7 separate regions of the Homo sapiens genome follow, and all the other regions are linked to region 1. The links are contacts of gene promoters, found by promoter capture Hi-C in blood cells and fetal thymus (Javierre and others, 2016). All regions are on one chromosome and are shown on one strand. Each heading gives the region's core, a stretch centred on a gene start or on the middle of the fragment in contact. The rest is flanking DNA. Distances are from core to core; before and after follow the strand shown. Region 1 holds the start of IBTK (inhibitor of Bruton tyrosine kinase). Region 2 overlaps ME1 (malic enzyme 1). Region 3 has its middle 12 kb from the start of RWDD2A. Region 4 overlaps PGM3 (phosphoglucomutase 3). Region 5 overlaps DOP1A (DOP1 leucine zipper like protein A). Region 6 overlaps DOP1A (DOP1 leucine zipper like protein A). Region 7 overlaps DOP1A (DOP1 leucine zipper like protein A).

Region 1 (2,692 bases), core at 193-2,692:
ATTACAGGCACACATCACCATGCCTGGCTGATTTTTTTGTATTTTTGGTAGAGACGGGGTTTCACCAAGTTGGCCTCGAACTCCTGACCTCAAGTGATCCGCCCACCTTGGCCTCCCAGACTGCTGGGATTACAGGCATCTTTTTTTTTTTTTTTTTTTTTGAGATGGTGCCACACTCAGTCGCCCAGGATGGAGTGCAGCGGCGCGATCTCGGCTCACTGCAACCTCCACCTCCCGGGTTCAAGCAATTCTCAGCCTCCCCAGTAGCTGGGATTACAGGCGTGAGCCACCGCGCCCGGCCTAAAAAATTTCTTGAAGTAAACTCTGGTTTGACTAAAGCTTCTGCAAATATTTGCAAATGTAATTATTTTTAGAAACCAGTTTTGTCCTCATCTACCTTGCCTCAATTTCTAAAACAAATAAAAGTTAAGGAATTCAAAATACAAAAAGAGAAATGATCAAGAGGGGGCTGGCAAGCCTGTGAATTTACACCACTTTATGGGCACTGAAACACTACTACTCATAAAAGTCATATCCTTTCAGTATTTCTGATAAATTTCAAATGGCCTACTTCGAGGCATAAGTTAAAAGGTGCTACATGAATCTCTGGCTAACACAGTCAAGTTTTATGAACTACGTTGGAAAACAGGAGTCAAGGACGGCCTATGTTACCTAATTCGCAGCTGAACTAAAACTCTTTGAGCCAGACAGCTCTGCCTGTTACAAAAACAAAGGGCCTGTCTTCTCTGTCTCTCTCAACCCTCCACCCTCCAAAAAGAATCAGTTCCTTTTTACATAGCAATCAATGTCCACTTATCAGATTTCACGACCTGCTTCCCCAGAGTCAGTATCCCCAGGGTGGACTCAAACTTGTGACTCCAGGAAGGGGATAAGGAACATGAGCGCCCACAGGAATGGCTTCAAATCCAAGACTCGAAGGAAAGTGACACTACATAACTATCACAACTAGGAATGCAATGTCGCTGGAGGGCGTGTCCAGCAGGACGGGAGCGTAGCGCATCGCCGGGACAGGCCATTCATTAGCTGAGGGGGGCGGTAGGGACCCTGGCCACTCGGCCCTCTCCGCGCCGCCTCGCGCGAAGCCCGGCAGCCTCGGGGCCACAGAGTCCCCTCCCCACGGTCCCCCCGCGCCGCCGTCCGCAGCCACCCGCACCCTCCAGAAGGCGAATACTCTCCCCCTGCCCCCGGGCTGAAGGGAAGCCGCACCGCACGGTCGGGCAGCGCCAAGCCCTCCCTCACCAGTCGCTAGATGAAACTGCGCCGGTGGATTCCGCAGGGTCCACATAGAGCCACAAAGGGACTCATCCTCAGTGAAGGCAATAAGAGAAACCGAACGGCGCCAGAGGGGCCAGTCCCCAGACCCGGGTCAGTTCGGCAGGCGGCTGCAATACAGCCGCTACTACAGGAATCGGGAACGGGGATGTAGAGGAAGGGCCCGAGCGGGCGGTTCCCAGTAATAAGGCGGGCGCTGGTTGGCTGGGGCTCCTGTATGTCTCTTGATGATTGGCTGGTGCCTGCCCAGAAGGTTTCGCGTGGCAGCACCTCTGCCATGGCCTTTTCCCTGGCGCCCCAAAGGAACTTGACCTCGCCGGCCTTGGGGCCGCTGACTCAGGCCAGGGGCGGGGAAAAGAAAAAGGCCGCAGCGGGGAACTCTAGGCCAACAACGGTGATGGGAGTGTCCCTTTCAGGCCAGCCATCTCGTAGTTAGAAACGTCTCTCTAGGTAGCTGGAGACTCGCGGGGGAGGCTAAACCCGAGTGGAGAAGGAGACCTGGCAGGATGCCTTGGACACCCGGTCGCTACGCAGCAGAAGCCAAGTGCATAGGCGTCCTGCACAGAAGAGTTTCCTCCCATGGCCTTAGCAGTGGGGTTACTGCAAAGCCAAAGGTGTAGTCTCCGTAAACCCAGCCTCACCCCTCTCTGGATCTCCATACACCCGGATTATCTGGCAGTCACTCCCTTGGTCAGAAGGCGTCACTGCCCTCTTAGATCACCACCGTAGGACTAGCTGCCGACCCGGGTCACGCCACTCACTGCCTGACACCAGGCTTACACTAGGCTTTTTCCACTTGAACTCTGAATCTAAAGGCCATTTAGAAAGTGGTCAAGTGAAAAATGCTAGGAGGGACAGTAGCCAATAATCAATACTAGGTTACTGAATGGGAAACACACTGCTGCTGAATGCCTAATACGGTAAGCACTCAGTAAATGATTGTTCAAGGAGGTGTAGTGTGACTCAAAACAAACGACACTAAGAATCATGAGTTGGCTGTACAGCTCTGCCACGTTGAGTTTTACAAGCCACTGAGTCGACCTCATCTAATCTCTAAAAGAAAGGAGTTGCGCATGTCTTAATGCCCACTGAGCTCTGCTTGCTCTCTTTTGAAGCCTTTTTTGTGGGAGGGTAGGTTACTAGCCCAAAGCCACACAGCTGCTTAGCGAAAGAGAAAGGGAGACTAGGACCCAGCCCTCCTACTGCCCTTCCCAGCACATAATTGTTTCTTTGCTCTTTATTCTTAATGTCCTTCTACAAAACAAAAACCAGTTTGTAATGTCAAAATTGAGTGGTTTTGAAAATAAGCTTAAGTTGGCCGGGCGCGGTGGCTCACGCCTGTAATCCCAGCAATGTGGGAGGCCGAGGCGGGCGGATCACGAGGTCAGGAGATCGAGAC
Region 2 (2,692 bases), core at 117-2,616, 980 kb after region 1:
CTTGGCTGGGCGCGGTGGCTCACGCCTGTAATCCCAGCACTTTGGGAGGTCGAGGAGGGTGGATGACTTGAGGTCAGGAGTTGGAGACCAGCCTGGCCAACATGGTGAAAGCCCATCTCTACTAAAAATACAAAAATTAGCTGGGTGTGGTGGTGGGCACCTGTAATCCCAGCTACTCAGGAAGCTGAGGCAGGAGAACTGCTTGAAACTGGGAGGCGGAGGTTGCAGTGAGCCGAGATCGTGCCATTCATTGCACTCCAGCCTGGGTGACAGAGCGAGACTCCATCTCAAAAAAAAAAAAAAAAAAAAAAAAAGGCATTAACTAGGGCCTGTTAGGTGCTGCATTTCATATTGCTAATCAAAAGAACATTTGTCTGTGATGGTGAGAGTGGACATCTAGTTGAGAGTATTTAGGCTTCAAAGTAGGAATCAGAAACCCTAAACAAATAAAGCATCACAGTCTAAGAAATCTATTTGAAAAGTCTAAAGCATCAAATCCCCAAGGCATAGTTTAAACGATGACAGAATGGGTTTTAACTTTCATATCTCTTGGATCTAGAGTCTAAATAATGATATTAATATTAACCTATTTTTAGCAAATGTCATAATATACCTTTTAGTTGTTCTTAAAGTTGTATAACAGAAATTCAACCTTCTTTGAGAGACAAAAAGATGAAAATAGATGAGGCAGAAAAACAAATTCTCATCTAGCTGTTTATAAGACACTGTTATGTTTTGCACAGAATTCGGTTTTGTTTTCAGACAAGTCTGATACCTTAAGCTCTTTAGCAGATAAAACATTTTGTTATAAACAACTTTCTAATGTAACTAAATTATTACTTCATATATAAAGGTTTTGGAAAATTATATTTGAGAAAGAGGCCTGTAACATTATATATATATATATATATATATATATATCTCCCCCACTCCTGCACTCCCACTCTTCCTGCCTTTCTATAATCACCATATTTTAAGGAGAAATGTCATTAAATAAATGACAGTACTGTAGCTAGCTAAATATTCTCATATATATATGTTATTAACATGGTGAAGGGAACCTTCCCATACCATTTTTAGATTATATTTTTATGGTTCAATAGTCTTTCTGTATATTGTAACTTAACCTTTCCTATCTTCACCTGTGCCTACAGTAGCAGAAACTCACATCCAGCAACAGGCAGACCTTTCCTTTTTCTCCAATCCTTTAGCCAAACCAGTGTCTAAATTTTCATCCTCAAAATAACTTTCAATGTTTTATGTAGAAAAACATAGAACATTAGGCAAGATGATAAGAAAGAGTTGAGGCATACATTTATATCAGACACATTCAAAGTTTAAAATACAACTACATAAATTTGGCTAATTTTGTTTATGTGTGTTATAGATAAGTCTCTTAACCCTTGAGGCCTGTTGAGATATATTAAGACAAAATAATTAATTAAACACTTGTTTATTATATGCCTAGTAGGTGCAAGGCATGATGCTAAGACTTGGTTGTTGCTGAAAGGACTTTTTTTTCCTTTAAGGATTTAAGGACTACTGAATAATGTGAGGCAAATTCCCCAATCTAGAGATGAGATAAAAATTAAAATCAGTGAGAACACTGATGCCATCCCAAATAAGAGAGATAAACAATGGAGTGGCTCCTTGCCAAAAAGAAAAATCACTAATTCTAGTATTGAGCATTTAAGGATATATGATTAAAATAGAGCCATTAAGTTCCAGTTAATGCAGAGTGACATAGCGTTCATGTTTACCTCTCTAGTTCATTTTGGATTTCTTTCCAAAATAAACATTTTAGATAGATATGACTCAACCTCTATTTTGTTGTAATGATATTTTAAAGTCTTTGAAGGGAAAAAAGGCTCCTTTCAGCATATCAGCCAAATACATATTAGTACAAACATGGTATAAAATAAATCATAGTAAAATGTTGAAGCATTGAGGACTCCTATCCCAGTCTGGCTGGATGTCAAGATAGTTGCCCAAATGTTCCACCCATAGTACCAAAACCCAAACCCAGGATTTAGCAAAGCAAAAATAAGGTTGTGGTTTTACATTGTATGCTTCAGTGTTTGGGAATAGCTAGTTAAAAGCTATTTTAATAAGCCTCTAGAACCAAGCTGCTTCCTTTCTATTTAACTTTTATGTTTAAATCTTAGATATCTATTTCCAAATCACTTGTGGAAAATTATCAGTAAAACATTAAAATATGTATTTTATTTTGTTGAAGAAGAGGATTTATACAACATTCTAGAAAAGGAAATAGTTCTTATCCCTCTGATTTGTGTGCTTTTCTTTCCATTTTGGTTGTATAATTTTTAAACTTAAACAGTAAGCACCTTAGATATCCTAGGCCTCCCTATAATGAATAAAAATTTGATTATTAAAATATCTGTTATAGTTTTACTTTACCTTGGTTATTTTGTAGCACTGCTCTGCAGAACATTCTGCTTTGCTAGTTGGATTACTCAAAGCAAAAATAATAGGCCGTTCATTGAAGGCAGCCATATCTTTGAGAATTTGTTCTGAGAATGCACCACCAATTGCAGCAACTCCTAATGAAGAAATATGAAGCTGGTAATTAACACTATCATTGGTTAATTCACACAAGAAGACCATGCCTCAAATCAATGATATCTATCAGCTCATTTTCTAATAGACCCTAAACAAAATGCTATATAAACTA
Region 3 (2,692 bases), core at 61-2,560, 960 kb after region 1:
TTTTACCATTTATTTCTGCCATTGTTTTCCATATATTTTGAAGCTGTTTTATTAAAAACATAGAAAGAATTGTGTCTTTTAATGACTGACCCATTTATCACTATCTCTACTAATATGCCTTGCCTTGAAGTGTGCTTCTCTTATATTAATAGAGCTACAGCAGCTTTCTTGGGCTTACTCTTTGTATGAGATATCTTTTGCCATCCTTTTACTGTCAAACTTTTTGTGTCATTATATTTAAAGTATGTCTCTTATAAACAGCATATAATTGTAGGCTGGGAATGGTGCCTCATGCCTATAATCCCAGCAGTTTGGGAGGCTGAGGCAGGAGGATCACTTGCCCTCAGGAACTTGAGACCAGCTTGGGCAATATAGTGAAATTTCATCTCTATAATAACAATAAAAATATATATAAACAGCATATAATTGGAGCTTTAAAAAAATCCAATCTGACAATTTTTGCTATTAGAGTGTTTAGTTCACTTACATTTAACATAATTACCAGCAAAGTTGGGTTTATGTCTACCATCTTGCTATTAGTTTTATATTTATCCCAGGAGTTAAGCTCTTACGTTCTTTGTTCCTCCTTTATCTTTCTTTTGCATTAATCAAGTATTTCAGAGTTATTCTATTTCTTCCATTAGCTTTTTTTTTTTTTTTTTTTTTTTTTTTGAGACAGAGTTTCACTCTTGTTGCCCAGGCTGCAGTGCAATAGTACAATTTCGGCTCGCTGCAACCACCACCTCCTGGGTTCAAACAATTCGCCTGTCTCAGCCTCCCAAGTAGTTGGGATTACAGGCACCTGCCACCACACCTGGATAATTTTGTATTTTTAGTAGAGATGGGGTTTCACCATGTTGGGCTGGCCTCAAACTCCTGACCTCAGGTGATCCACCCACCTCGGCCTCCCAATGTGTTGGGATCACAAGTGTGAGCCACAGCGTCTGGCCTATTAGCTTTTAAACTGTATGTTTTTTGTATTATTTTTAGTGTTTTAGAGGTTATAATATTCTTCCTTAATTTATTACTATATTCCTTGAATTCTTGCAATACATTTTAAATTGTTAGGTTCCTAGATTGGTCATGAAGTGGTATATTACTTGCTACAGTATTCCTTTTATAATGGATGTACCATTTCATGAATAATGTATAAAACATACAGTAGTATACTTCCATTATTAATCCCCCTTCCACCCCTTGTCCTACTCTAGCCATACATTTTACTTCTACATATTTTATAAACCCCACATACATTGTTATTTGTATTAGTCAATAGTCTTATATGAATTTTAAAACAGTATTTTATATTCTCACACATCCACCTTTTCTGGTGCTTTTCTTTTCTTTCTTTCTTTCTTTTTTTTTTTTTTGAGACAGAGTTTTGCTCTGTTGCCCGGGCTGGAGTGCAGTGGTGCAATCTCGGCTCACTGCAACCTCCGCCTCCCAGGTTCAAGCAATTCTTCTGCCTCAGCCTCCCAAGTAGCTCGGAGGATAGGTACCTGCCACCATGCCCGGCTAATTTTTTTTTTTCTTTTTTGGTATTTTTAGTAGAGACGGGGGTTTCACCGTGTTAGCCAGGATGGTCTCAATCTCCTGACCTCATGATCAGCCCACCTTGGCCTCCCAAAGTGCTAGGATTCAGGCATGAGTCACCGGGCCCAACTCTTTCTGGTGCTTTTCATTTTTTCCCACAGATGCACGTTTCCATCTAGGATCATTTTCCCTCAGACTGAAGAACTTCCTTTAGTACTTCTAGCAGTGTAGGTCTGCAGGCCATGAATTAGCTCAGATTTCATTAGTCTGAAATGTCTCTATTTGCCTTAATTTCTGAAGGATATTTTCTCTAGGTATAGAATGCTAAGTTTTAGACTGGGCGCGGTGGCTCACGCCTGTAATCCCAGCATTTTGGGAGGCCGAGGTGGGTGGATCACTAGGTCAGGAGATTGAGACCATCCTGGCTAACACGGTGAAAACCTGTCTCTACTAAAAATACAAAAAAAAAAACCAAATTAGCCAGGCATGGTGGTGGGTGCCTGTAGTCCCACTACTTGGGAGGCTGAGGCAGGAGAATTGCTTGAACCCAGGAGGTGGAGGTTGCAGTGAGCTGAGATCGCGCCACTGCACTCCAGCCTGGGCGACAAAGCGAGACTCCGTCTGGAAAAAAAAAAAAAAGAATGCTAAATTTTATTCTTTTGGCACATTAAAAATGTCTATTATCTCATTTTTCTGCCGAGATGTTGGCTGTCATTCTTATTGTACTTCTGAAGGCATTGTATACCTATTTCATTTGGCTGCTTTTAAGATTTTTCTGTTTATTTTTGATATGCAATTTGATTATGATATCCCTAGGTATGGTGTCCTTTGTATTGATCCTACTTGGGGCTTGCTAGCTCTATCAGTTGATGCTTTTCATTAATTTGAGAAAATTTCTTTCCATTATCTCTTCAAATATTTGTACTCCAGTATCTCTTCTTTCCTTACAGGACCCAGTAGCACGTATATTAGACCACCTCATTTTAGCCAACATCTCTCTCTCTCTTTTCCTTTCTTGCTCTCTCTTTATGCTTCCATTTGGAAATTTTCTGTTTATGTTAGACAAAAACCATAGGATTATCTCAACAGGTGCAGAAAAGGCTTTCAATATAACTCAACATACCTTCATATTAAAAACTCTCAGTAAACTAGATATTAA
Region 4 (2,692 bases), core at 139-2,638, 930 kb after region 1:
CTTTGTTTGCAAATAGCAGCAAGTTCAATTAGAAGGTTAAGAAATGGAATGAGGAGGCTTCTAGGACTAATCCCAGTAAGAAATAGTGGCTGGATCAGCAATAGTGAATAGGGAAAGTCATGGATGGATGGATCTGAGAGAGCTTTAAGAATGGTTAAGGAAAGATTGATAGTAGAAAAACTGCAAAAGAAAGATCAGCATTAGATTGGATGTAGGAGACCTCAGGAATGGCAAGGGCTAAAAATATTTCATCTGGAAGACAGTGAGTTGAGAAGTAACAGTTTCTTAAACTAGGTTATTTTATCTGTAATAAATTTTTAAGACAGAAAATGAAAATCCTAAAACAATAACCCAAGTACTGTGAAATAACCCAATCCCTGTGAAAGGCAGGCAAATGGGCCCCAGATGGAATCCCTTGAATGAGCTTATTATAACCATATATTAAAATCAGGTCATAAACTAGCAGCCTCAAGATATATTTCGTTTTGCCCAGCCACTGTTTCTTTTTAAACAAATAGGAACATCACATGAAAATTCAGATTTCCTGCTTCTCTTGAAGAGTGTGACTACAGTTGACATCAGCTGGCACATACTGACCTGTTTTTAGCCCCCTGCTGCCCTCATTCACTTTACCTGTCCAAATCCTGCAGGAATCTGACTTTGTAATTCCTGCTTTCTAGAGAATGGAAAGGTAACTAAAACTAGTATAAATGCCAGAACGAGGTACAAAATGAGGTACAAAAAAGTTGGAAAACTTCTCGATAATGAGAAAGTATAGGCAAACAGACTTCCAGTTTTGTCCATGAACCCTGGTAACTCTCCGAGCAAGTAGTGTGGTGCCAAGGGTGGTCACCTGGTGGACACCGGGGAAATAATTAGAAACAGAATCTCCCACCACCCCAGAAAACCTCTCCAAAAAAAAAAGAAGGGTAAGAAACAGTTTTATTACTGAATAAGTATTAAGCCAAACTGATGTTCAATCACAGGCTAATTTGCTAAGAGATAGCAAAGATAAACGCTCACCCTTTAATATAGCCAAGCGGACACATTCCAATACAATTTGCTAAGATAAAAGATGGCTAATGACAAAAATTCTCTCCTTGACCAAACTTTAGTTAGGTTTAGGTGGGCCTGACTAGGCCTTGTCCTTAGGCATGTCTTCCAATAGCCCGATTTTAATAAGAGTCATGCTAAGTGAGCTTAGCGAGAATCCCTCATCCTGATACATGACCACTCTTGACATCTGATCTGAGTTCTCATTCTCTACCATCCCCCAGGTAATATGTGACCGCCCTGGCCTACCTTCAGCAAAAGTCCTGTTAGATCAGTTTAGCCAAAATACCACCCACTTACCCTCATGTTTCCTCTCAGTAATTTTTCATCCACTGACCACCCCCCACACACCCTGCTCCTTGGCTATAAAGCCCTACTTTTCCTTACTATATTTGGAGTTGAGCCCAATCTTTCTCCTACCACTGCAAAACTCCATCACATTAGTCCCTGTACCTATCACAACAGTCCTGAATCAAGTCTGCCTTACCATTTTAACAAGTGTCATGAATTATTTTTTCTTTAACACTAGTCCTCAAATAGGAAAACTTGAAACCACCATTTGTCACACACATAGTTTATCCTAAACTTACTTGGTAATAGGGATGGCCACCTGTGTTAACTGCCCTTCTCTAAAGGAGTAATAAAACTTTTCATACCTCTGTGACAGGTAGATAGTTACAAATTGGACGCAAACACCTAAGTTAAACTCTCCTGAGACTGGGAGATAGGTGAGCTATCTTCCTTGATGTTTATATTTGAAATTGGTGACTCTAGGCCCTTAAAGAAAAGTATTCCTGAGCTATAAAACTGGCTTATTAGGCCTTTAGAAAGACTTACATTCATTACAAAGGCACAGAGAAAGAATTCCAAGTTTTCTAAAGGAAAACTCCAAGAAAAGGAAGGAAAGAAGTTTTCCTTTATTCATCAAGGACAACTAAATTTTTTCTTATTTATTTCTCTTTACCTTTACATGAACAGCAGCTCAGCTTCATGCACTACAACATAATCACTTTTATGAGGGCAGTATCTTTCTCACAGAAACATGATCTTAATTAAGAAACTACCAGAAAACAAAAATGGTTCAATACCTTCATAACTTCTTCAAGATACCGTGTTGAACTTCCATTTGCATATGCAGTTTGTACAACACCAATATTCAAACTTTCTCCAATCTAGACAAAAACAATGATACTTAACTTGCCATCAAAAGTATGGTCTACAAAAACAAATATAATGAGAGTTCTAAAGGCTACCAAAATTATCAGCCAGTTCAGTTGTGCCTTAGTTTATGCCAAAAATGTCTGACTGAAAATTTACATGTATGCCAGGAAAAAAGCCTAAAATACATTTGAACACTATTTAAAACAATTCTATGAGAATTCCTCTTTTAAGAAGCCTGTATCTCCTGATCTTCACCTCTTTAATTTTTTAAATAAAAGTATCTGGCCAGGCACGGTGGCTCACGCCTGTAATCCCAGCACTCTGGGAGGCCAAGGTGGGTGGATCACCTGAGGTCAAAAGTTCGAGACCAGCCTGGCCAACATGGTGAAACCCCATCTCTACTAAAAGTACAAAAATTAGCCAGGTGTGGTGGCATGCATCTGTAATCCCAGCTACTTGGGAGGCTGAGGCAGAAGAA
Region 5 (2,692 bases), core at 124-2,623, 910 kb after region 1:
AAATATAAACTACAGAAGTTCATAACTAGTGTGCATGTGTGTACCATACATAGTTGTTCTTCCTTATTTTTTTAGGATGTAACTCACAAAATAGTGGATGCAATTGGTGCAATTGCTGGTTCTTCTCTGGAACAGACAACATGGCTGCGACGAAATCTTGAAGTTAAGCCTTCTCCCAAAATAATGGTAGATGGAACCAATTTGGAATCTGATGTTGAAGGTATTCTTGTCAAACATTTAGGTTTATTATCTGTAAGCAGGCATATATTTACTAAGAAATCATTTTGCCTAGCACTATAAGTACCACAAATTTATCCCTTTTCTCATGTCTAACAAGTAACTTTTTTTCAGTGGGAAAAATATATATATACATATACATATATATATACATATATAAAAATAATACACACACACACACACACACATAAAATTTATTTTCAGTGGGAATTAGCCATATCTTTAATTTTCTCTTATTTATAGATATGTTATCACCTGCAATGGAAACCGCAAACATAACTCCTTCTGTATATAGTGTCCATGCATTGACATTACTCTCTGAGGTAAATATTAAGCTTTTTCACATGAACTCTCAAGTAGACTGTTTCATTATTAAAAATTAGCAAGTAATTTTTATAGAGGAATTTCTAATTTGAGAAACTATTTTGTGCTTCTAGAAATCACTATATAGAATTAATATAAAGTTTTGGCCTTGTATGTATTTGGATTATTTAGTTTGCCAAACATTAGTGATAAATTTAGATACTGCTTCCCTTCTCCATGTCCTATTCTTTTTTATGTGTTTTTTTCTTTTTCTTTTTTTTTTTTTTTTGAGACAGTTTCACTCTTGTTGCCCAGGCTGGAGTCAAGTGGGGTGATCTCAGCTCACTGCAACCTCTGCCTCCCGGGCTCAAGCTATTCTCCTCCCTCAGCCTCCTAAGTAGTTGAGACTACGGGTGTGTGCCACAATGCCCAGCTAATTTTTGTATTTTTAGTAGAGACGGGGTTTCATCAGTTTGGCCAGGCTGGTCTCGAACTCCTGACCTCAGGTAATCCGCCCACCTCGGCTTCCCAAAGTGCTGAGGTTACAGGCATGAGCCACCGCGCCCGGCCTGGGGAGGGGTGGAGGTGATCTAAAGCCTGCCACTATAATGTATTTTACAATTTACCAAACATTTTCATGTACATTGTCTGACAGGTTCTTTTTTATACCCTATTATACACATGTCATTTTGTTTCCTCTTTGCAGATGTGGATAGTGACCTTTACAAAGATCAGAACAATAGGACTAAGGCCAAATAGCTGTTAATTGACAGTGTTGGAATTTGAACAGCCCAGTTCAATTGTTTGTTTTTTTTTCCTAAACTACATTTTAGCTGAGTCAGGGAAAAAGAATACTATAGTTTCTAGTACTAAATTCACTGTTTACTCACTGTCACAGAAGGTTCTTGAACTCTTTTCTTTTTTGTACTTCCCTATCTCAGTTGGAAATGGCAAGATTTGCCCATATTTATATCCTATAGTAACAATGTACAAAAAAGCAGATGGTGGCAAAACTCATTAACATAAAAATGATTCAGGAAGATTTAATTTTAGATTTTTCTAATTTTAAGTAGTCTAGGTTTTCTAACAAACTGAAAATCAGTACCTTGGGATGATGTCAGTTTCACCTCATATGTTACTCTTCATTTTTTATGTTTTCATAGGTTTTGGCTCATCTTTTGGATATGGTTTTCTATAGTGATGAAAAGGAGCGGGTTATTCCTTTACTTGTAAATATTATGCATTATGTTGTGCCCTACCTCAGAAATCACAGGTACTATCATTATTTAAATAGTTTTTAAAATTAATTCATAGCCTGTTAGAAACAAGTTCTGTTCCCTTATTGCCATTTCTAGAATTATCATAAAATGGCATTTTTACCTTGAATTATAATTGTTTAAAAAAATTCATATATTATTTTTCTTATGGTGCTTTCTATTTCATATCTTCATGTCACTGTCTTAGGTAAATGTGAACATTTATGTATAACTTGATAGGATGATTAAAGTTAGGACACGTAGGTTAAGGTGGTTTTTCTTCCTTGTAGTGCACATAATGCCCCTAGTTATCGAGCTTGTGTCCAGCTGCTCAGCAGTCTTAGTGGGTATCAGTACACACGGAGAGCTTGGAAAAAAGAAGCTTTTGACCTCTTTATGGATCCCAGTTTCTTTCAGATGGATGCCTCTTGTGTTAATCAGTAAGTTGCCCTCTTATTTGTATTCAGCATGATGCACCTCACAGTCTGATGAAATCAGCTACTCCCCTGGAAAGTTAGAATACTGTTCTTTAACAGTAACAACATAATTACATGTTGTAATCCTTATCTCTTTCAGTTGGAGAGCAATTATGGACAATCTGATGACACATGATAAAACAACATTTAGAGATTTGATGAGTGAGTATTACGGGATGACAATCCAAGTTCTTTCCTGTACATGGTTCCTTCTTACTATTTACTTGTACTCTTTTCTGGAGACTAGGAGACTACTGAATTAGCTCTTTGTCAAGTGTCAGTGGGGATATGTGCTCTAGGGAAAGCACACTACTTTCTGTACGCTATGGGAATATAATCTTAAAATTTACAGAGGACAACTTAAGTGATAAGTAATAAGTAAAACTATTTGTCCTTTTGCAGCAACTAGTGGAGGGAAGG
Region 6 (2,692 bases), core at 63-2,562, 890 kb after region 1:
TAATCTCAAAAGTAGTTTAATATTTTTATTGTAAAAATTATTTTTAAGTATTTAAATTTTTGAGTCAAACCAGCTTTATAAGTGATGAAAAACTCATTTGGGATTAATGTATCATTTCTGGGACAAAAAATATATAGTGCAATGAAATCAATTTTGATAACTAAATGTTTATATTAAAATGAAGGAGGAAGTGCTTTCTGGACTCCAGATATATGTACATTAGTAACTTTTTTCTCCTGTTATACAATAATATAGTAAACTAATTACTTAAAGTCTGAACTCAGGAATAATTATTTATGAGACAGGATGAGATGATCCTTTTAAGTTCAATATTTCTGTATATATTTACATATTTTCTGTGTTTCTACTGCCATAAAGAATATAAATAAAGTTTATTGCAATGTGTGTTTGAATATTGTGGACGTTGAACGTAATACAGTACTCCTAAATAGTACTCTGATTTTACTAAAATCATAGTATCTTCAAGAGAGAAGAACATAATTTAAGCTCCCATGTTTCTCCTCAGAAAATAAGGATGGAAGCACATGCCAAGTTTGCAGTTCTTTGGCATCTAACGAGAGATCTCCATATAAATAAATCTTCATCTTTTGTACGTTCTTTTGACAGGTCAGTTACATTTTATATTAAGATTTCACAGTCATATATCTTAATGTTGCCTCTTTCCTTGAGTCCACTGTCTAGCTTGGCAAGTGTAGGAGATAGCAATTTACAAATTTTATAAAGAGAATTTATTATTTTGAAAACCGTAAGCTGTATTAAAATGCATGGCATTTTTACTCATCCACCAGGTTTTTACTTTCTGGTTTTGGAGTACCCGGCTCCACTTCCCTTCCTTGGACAACTATTCATCACGTTCCTGATAATGTTAGTGATAGAGCAATGGATACAGCTCTCTTGAGACTATATTCACATTTAGTGAAACTGCATATAGATAGTAGATTATGTGTTTCTCAAGCAATTATTTTCAATCTTCTGCCTAAACTAGATTTATTAAAATCTATAGCTGAAAACACTAACAGATTCTTTCCATGAATCCAGAGAACTTGTAGCTGCCTGAGAGTGGTTTTGGTTTTTGTCTGGACTACGTAGGTGACTTCAAATATCAGATCTGCATTAAATTCCAAGGAGCTGCCATTTTTAGGTGGATTCATATATTGTCATAAGGTAGTCTCACCAGTTGGTCTCATACTGGTGGCCATGAATCTATGTTCAAGGTCAGCTCAGGATCAGATGTGTCCTCTACTGAACGTTATTTCAGCTGGTGCTTTTCAACCAGCATTAGCATTTTAAGTCATCTGATACTGAACCATATATTGAACCCCTACAATGTACTGAATATATTGAACCTTTACTTTATAAATAATCATCTCTTATTTGACAACCATCTTTCCTAATTTTACAAGTGAGGGAATAGAGGTCAGGAAAAGTTGTTACTTGCCCAACACCACACAAAATATTTGAATCTTGGGTTTTTCTGATTCCAAACCACACTTTCATACCTTCCACAGATCTTTCCTTGAATTAAGCACAGAGCTTTGGCTCACAAGGAGAGTGTGAGCAGAGGAACATGGACCAACATGGAGTAATGCCGACTTGCCGAAGGCTCAGTGCTTGATAATATGAACAGGAAAATGTTGCTAAAACAAGACTAATCATATTTTTTTTCAGTTCTTCAGTATTAATCTTAGTAATGTATGCCTGTGAAATTTCAAAGCATGAGTATATTTTTAAAAGGGCAAAAGGTTTTTTTCCTTTCTTATACCCACCGAGACTATTGGGATTAAGATTATTAAAATACTATGATCAAAATTTATCCTGAAGTATGACTACTTCAAAATAGTTAATTCAAAATAAGAAACAGAATTTATTAATTTTATAAAAGAGTGTGACAAGGTAGATGTTTGGTTCTTTATTTTAATTATTTGTGTTTATTTTAGGTCACTGTTCATCATGTTAGATAGCCTTAACAGTCTCGATGGTTCTACTAGCTCTGTGGGACAAGCCTGGCTGAACCAAGTCCTACAAAGACATGATATTGCACGAGTTTTGGAACCATTGCTATTGCTCCTGCTTCATCCAAAAACTCAGAGGGTTTCAGTACAGCGTGTACAAGCAGAACGTTATTGGAATAAGTCTCCCTGTTATCCAGGAGAGGAGAGTGACAAGCATTTCATGCAAAATTTTGCCTGCAGCAATGGTGAATAACACATAGAAGTAGACAGCTTTATTTAGAATTATTAAAATAAAGTGATACATGAATACAACAGTAATTGTTGAAAGAACTGCATGTGAGATTTTCTCCATGGGCTTATTTTCTCCCCTCCTCATGCACTAGCAATGCTGTGTGGACCATGTCAGAATGTACTTTGTCAATGACCATCTTAGAGGATGTGGGTCTCTCAGTTGACTCTTTCAGGGCAGGAATCAGGCACAGCTCTGATTAGAGACATTCTTCAATTTTGATGGAAATATCTTTAGAGCTTAGTTAGCAATTCTGGTCCTACAGGCTCTGTAGATACTTCATTGGGAATTTATAGTAAATCTGTAATGCACATTTTGTATTTCATGAGTCATTTTCCTCATCTTTTAAGAGAAGAATAATGCTCAACTTTCAAGGTTTTATTATGACCATCAGATGTAGTCATGTTTGTGACATGCCTAAATATTCACT
Region 7 (2,692 bases), core at 81-2,580, 870 kb after region 1:
GAGTCACGGTGCCCGGCCACATCAGAAATACTTTAAGTGAATCTTTCACTCTATTATACAGAATATTAAAAGACATGCACTCAAAGGTTGATACTTATTTTTTGATTTTACTGCAAGTACATGGCTGTGAAAATATAATGATTACAAGTATAGTAGGTGCAGCTGCTATGCTGCCTCTTTTCATGCTAAGGTGCCAGCAGTTTTATCCACTATTGCATGATCAGGGCATATGTCAACAAAACAAAAAGCCCAATAACATCTTTGTATTGTTATGAATATGCATAGTTTTATTTGTTATGAATATGAATAGCTGGTTTTTACTTTGTGCACCCCCTGAAAAAGTCTTAGAGATACCTAGGGGTCTTGAACCATACTTTCAGAATTGTACAGATCAATAGAAGGCATTTGTGTTCAAAGGAGTGAACCTAATTCGTCAATTGTTGGTGATCTGTGTTCTGTATCATCTCAGTTATTTCTCTAAGGTTCCTTTAACACAAATGAGCTGGGTAAATCCTTTCTAATTCTATCAAGAAGCATGATATAGGACAAAGTTCACTGGTCTGTGATTAAGGAGAAGTGAGTTCTCCATCTAGCTGGGGCACTAACCAGGCATTTGAATTTGGCTAAGCACTTAGCCAAAACCTCAAGAACCTGTGAGGTTTAGATTCTTTACTTATAGAGTGGTTGTTAAACTAGTCAGTTTCCACATTATCATCTAATTCTCAGATTCCAAGATTATATTGTAAAGTGATTATCTGGCAGTATTCTTAAAATTAATAGCAAGTTAGTTGCTTTTCTTCTATTTTGATTTTTATAAATTTACCTCTTTTAGCTAAAACCCAGATCTCCTTTAATCATTTTTTTAAACGTTGAATTAAGGATATTGGGAAAAAAGAAAAAAATTATTTCTCTTAAAAAGAAATGGAACAAAATGAGAGAAAAATTAAGATTGTTAAAGCTGGATGATTGGTAGAAAACGGTTTATTATTTTGTTTTCTGTATTTTTTGATATGTTTAAAATACTACAAGATAAAAATTTTTAAAAAGAATAAAGAGTGGATGAAGATAGTAACCTTCTCAGGAGTTTATAGTCAGTTGACAACGTTATAAATGTGAAAGACTAATGGCATATCATTTTCTTGTGTCTGTCCCATCTTGCTTCATTTTATTTGTTTTATGTCAGAATTTGCTTTTATTATATAGACAAAGAACTTTAAACTGTAAGTTAAAATAATTAAGTTATAGTTTCAGTTATGCAGCTAAATAGCCATGTTACCTAACTTTCTTCCTGTTTCCTAATCTGTAAAATGGAAGTAATATCCTGTGTTTGAAATAATCCATGAAAGTACTCCATACACCCTAATATTCTAAGCATATTTCAGGGCATTTTTTAAAGAGGAAAAAAATAATATATATTGTATATTGCTAAGTACAACCATATTCCTAACTCTTTCAGGCCACTCGACCGGATATGATCAGGATCTTGTCAGCAGCCCTTCATGTAGTGCTAAGGAGGGATATGTCTCTGAATCGAAGACTTTATGCATGGCTTCTTGGTAGGTATTTGATGTCTGTGGTCATGATTGGGGAAAAAATGGAGGGAGATTTGTCATGTATAAGTATTACCAAGTTGTATGTATGTCCTGAATTTAAAAACTAAAATCTCTTGTGTAAATGGACAATAAAAATATAAACAGTATTAGTTGTGTATTGTATGAAGAAATTTCAGCAGCTTTATATTTGAAGAGTCTATTTGAATTCATAAAGTCATGTTCCCTTGTCCTTAACAAGATGTTTTTCCCCTTACAAATTGAGATGGTTGTATATAAGTTAGTAGGCAAAGAAGGATGAGCTAATAATCAAAATACTGTCCAAAACTTTGAATTCATCAAAGGAATCAGGACTAGTACCATTGTCTTACACATCATACAGTGTCCCACTCAGGCAGTAATACATATGTACACTTTGGTCGTCCATGCTTTTTGTGTGTTTTGTCTGTCTTCACAACTCTTTACTGCCTAGAGTGAGGGGACATAATATAACTTATTGTGGATGTTCTGAGTATTCAGTTATTTCACTGTTAGTAAAATTGGCCAAAAAATAAAAAGGATAATTCTGGAAGAATACTATGATACTTATGTATTGAATTGGTTTCCCTTTATTAAACTATCTAAAATGATCTCTCTTGCTGACATTGAATGGGCTACTAATTGGTAAGTGTTTAGTGCTGTTCTGAGATTTTGCTGTTTTGGTATTTAGTGAACAACAGTTTTGAGAATTCCATTTTAAGTAATTTTGTGATTTGTTTCCATGGAGGTTTTGATAACAACGGTGCTATCATAGGACCCAGAAGCACAAGACACAGTAATCCTGAAGAACATGCCACTTACTATTTCACTACCTTTTCAAAAGAATTATTAGTCCAGGTAATGAATACTTTTATTATTCTTTGGTTACTTACTGACCACTAGAGGTAGTGAAAAAGTGTAAGACGAGGTCTTGCCTTAATTGAATTCACAGTTGAAGGGGTGGAGACAAGACTTACAAACTTCCCAAGAATTTTTATAACAAGAAAATTCCTGTAAAATGATAATCATATGTTAGACTACCATGTAAGACAAAAGACTTTTTTTCTCTTACTTTGTTGTTTTCATTACTTTATTAAAACATAGTTGTAGCTTCTCACCTGTCT

Evidence for each region. Contacts are between HindIII fragments. The CHiCAGO score rates a contact against its expected background, and 5 or more counts as called.
Region 2: a fragment that was not itself captured here is called in contact with the fragment with the promoter of IBTK in region 1 in 3 of 17 cell types (naive CD8 T cells, naive CD4 T cells and M0 macrophages); the score reaches 8.5 in naive CD8 T cells.
Region 3: a contact is called between a fragment that was not itself captured here and the fragment with the promoter of IBTK in region 1, in 14 of 17 cell types (total CD4 T cells, naive CD8 T cells, M2 macrophages and 11 more). The highest score is 18.6, in total CD4 T cells.
Region 4: a fragment that was not itself captured here is called in contact with the fragment with the promoter of IBTK in region 1 in 13 of 17 cell types (total CD4 T cells, monocytes, M1 macrophages and 10 more); the score reaches 17.1 in total CD4 T cells.
Region 5: a contact is called between a fragment that was not itself captured here and the fragment with the promoter of IBTK in region 1, in 11 of 17 cell types (M1 macrophages, M2 macrophages, M0 macrophages and 8 more). The highest score is 11.6, in M1 macrophages.
Region 6: a contact is called between a fragment that was not itself captured here and the fragment with the promoter of IBTK in region 1, in 13 of 17 cell types (M2 macrophages, total CD4 T cells, activated CD4 T cells and 10 more). The highest score is 19.3, in M2 macrophages.
Region 7: a contact is called between a fragment that was not itself captured here and the fragment with the promoter of IBTK in region 1, in 9 of 17 cell types (M2 macrophages, naive CD8 T cells, activated CD4 T cells and 6 more). The highest score is 16.9, in M2 macrophages.

What each region holds. Positions count from the first base shown.
Region 1 is chr6:82,246,302-82,248,993 of GRCh38, forward strand. IBTK (inhibitor of Bruton tyrosine kinase) reads right to left here and starts at 1,443. Exons shown (of 29, transcript NM_015525.4): 1 at 1,261-1,443. RefSeq lists a silencer at 1,076-1,245. The HindIII fragment of the contact is 2,262 bases long and covers 338-2,599 here.
Region 2 is chr6:83,224,917-83,227,608 of GRCh38, forward strand. ME1 (malic enzyme 1) reads right to left here. Exons shown (of 14, transcript NM_002395.6): 11 at 2,419-2,561. Among named protein-coding and RNA genes, the nearest start is that of RWDD2A, 33 kb to the left of the region's middle. The HindIII fragment of the contact is 4,407 bases long and covers 1-2,692 here.
Region 3 is chr6:83,203,967-83,206,658 of GRCh38, forward strand. No RefSeq gene overlaps it. Among named protein-coding and RNA genes, the nearest start is that of RWDD2A, 12 kb to the left of the region's middle. The HindIII fragment of the contact is 9,001 bases long and covers 1-2,692 here.
Region 4 is chr6:83,176,532-83,179,223 of GRCh38, forward strand. It overlaps PGM3 (phosphoglucomutase 3), which reads right to left. Exons shown (of 13, transcript NM_015599.3): 8 at 2,142-2,225. Among named protein-coding and RNA genes, the nearest start is that of PGM3, 15 kb to the right of the region's middle. The HindIII fragment of the contact is 3,063 bases long and covers 1-2,692 here.
Region 5 is chr6:83,151,808-83,154,499 of GRCh38, forward strand. It overlaps DOP1A (DOP1 leucine zipper like protein A), which reads left to right. Exons shown (of 39, transcript NM_015018.4): 29 at 76-220; 30 at 481-560; 31 at 1,704-1,813; 32 at 2,087-2,236; 33 at 2,373-2,434. It also overlaps a transcript of PGM3 not described here. Among named protein-coding and RNA genes, the nearest start is that of PGM3, 40 kb to the right of the region's middle. The HindIII fragment of the contact is 1,606 bases long and covers 571-2,176 here.
Region 6 is chr6:83,133,661-83,136,352 of GRCh38, forward strand. DOP1A (DOP1 leucine zipper like protein A) reads left to right here. Exons shown (of 39, transcript NM_015018.4): 19 at 527-627; 20 at 1,959-2,218. Among named protein-coding and RNA genes, the nearest start is that of PGM3, 58 kb to the right of the region's middle. The HindIII fragment of the contact is 8,956 bases long and covers 1-2,692 here.
Region 7 is chr6:83,117,432-83,120,123 of GRCh38, forward strand. It overlaps DOP1A (DOP1 leucine zipper like protein A), which reads left to right. Exons shown (of 39, transcript NM_015018.4): 8 at 1,457-1,556; 9 at 2,317-2,426. Among named protein-coding and RNA genes, the nearest start is that of DOP1A, 51 kb to the left of the region's middle. The HindIII fragment of the contact is 4,542 bases long and covers 1-2,692 here.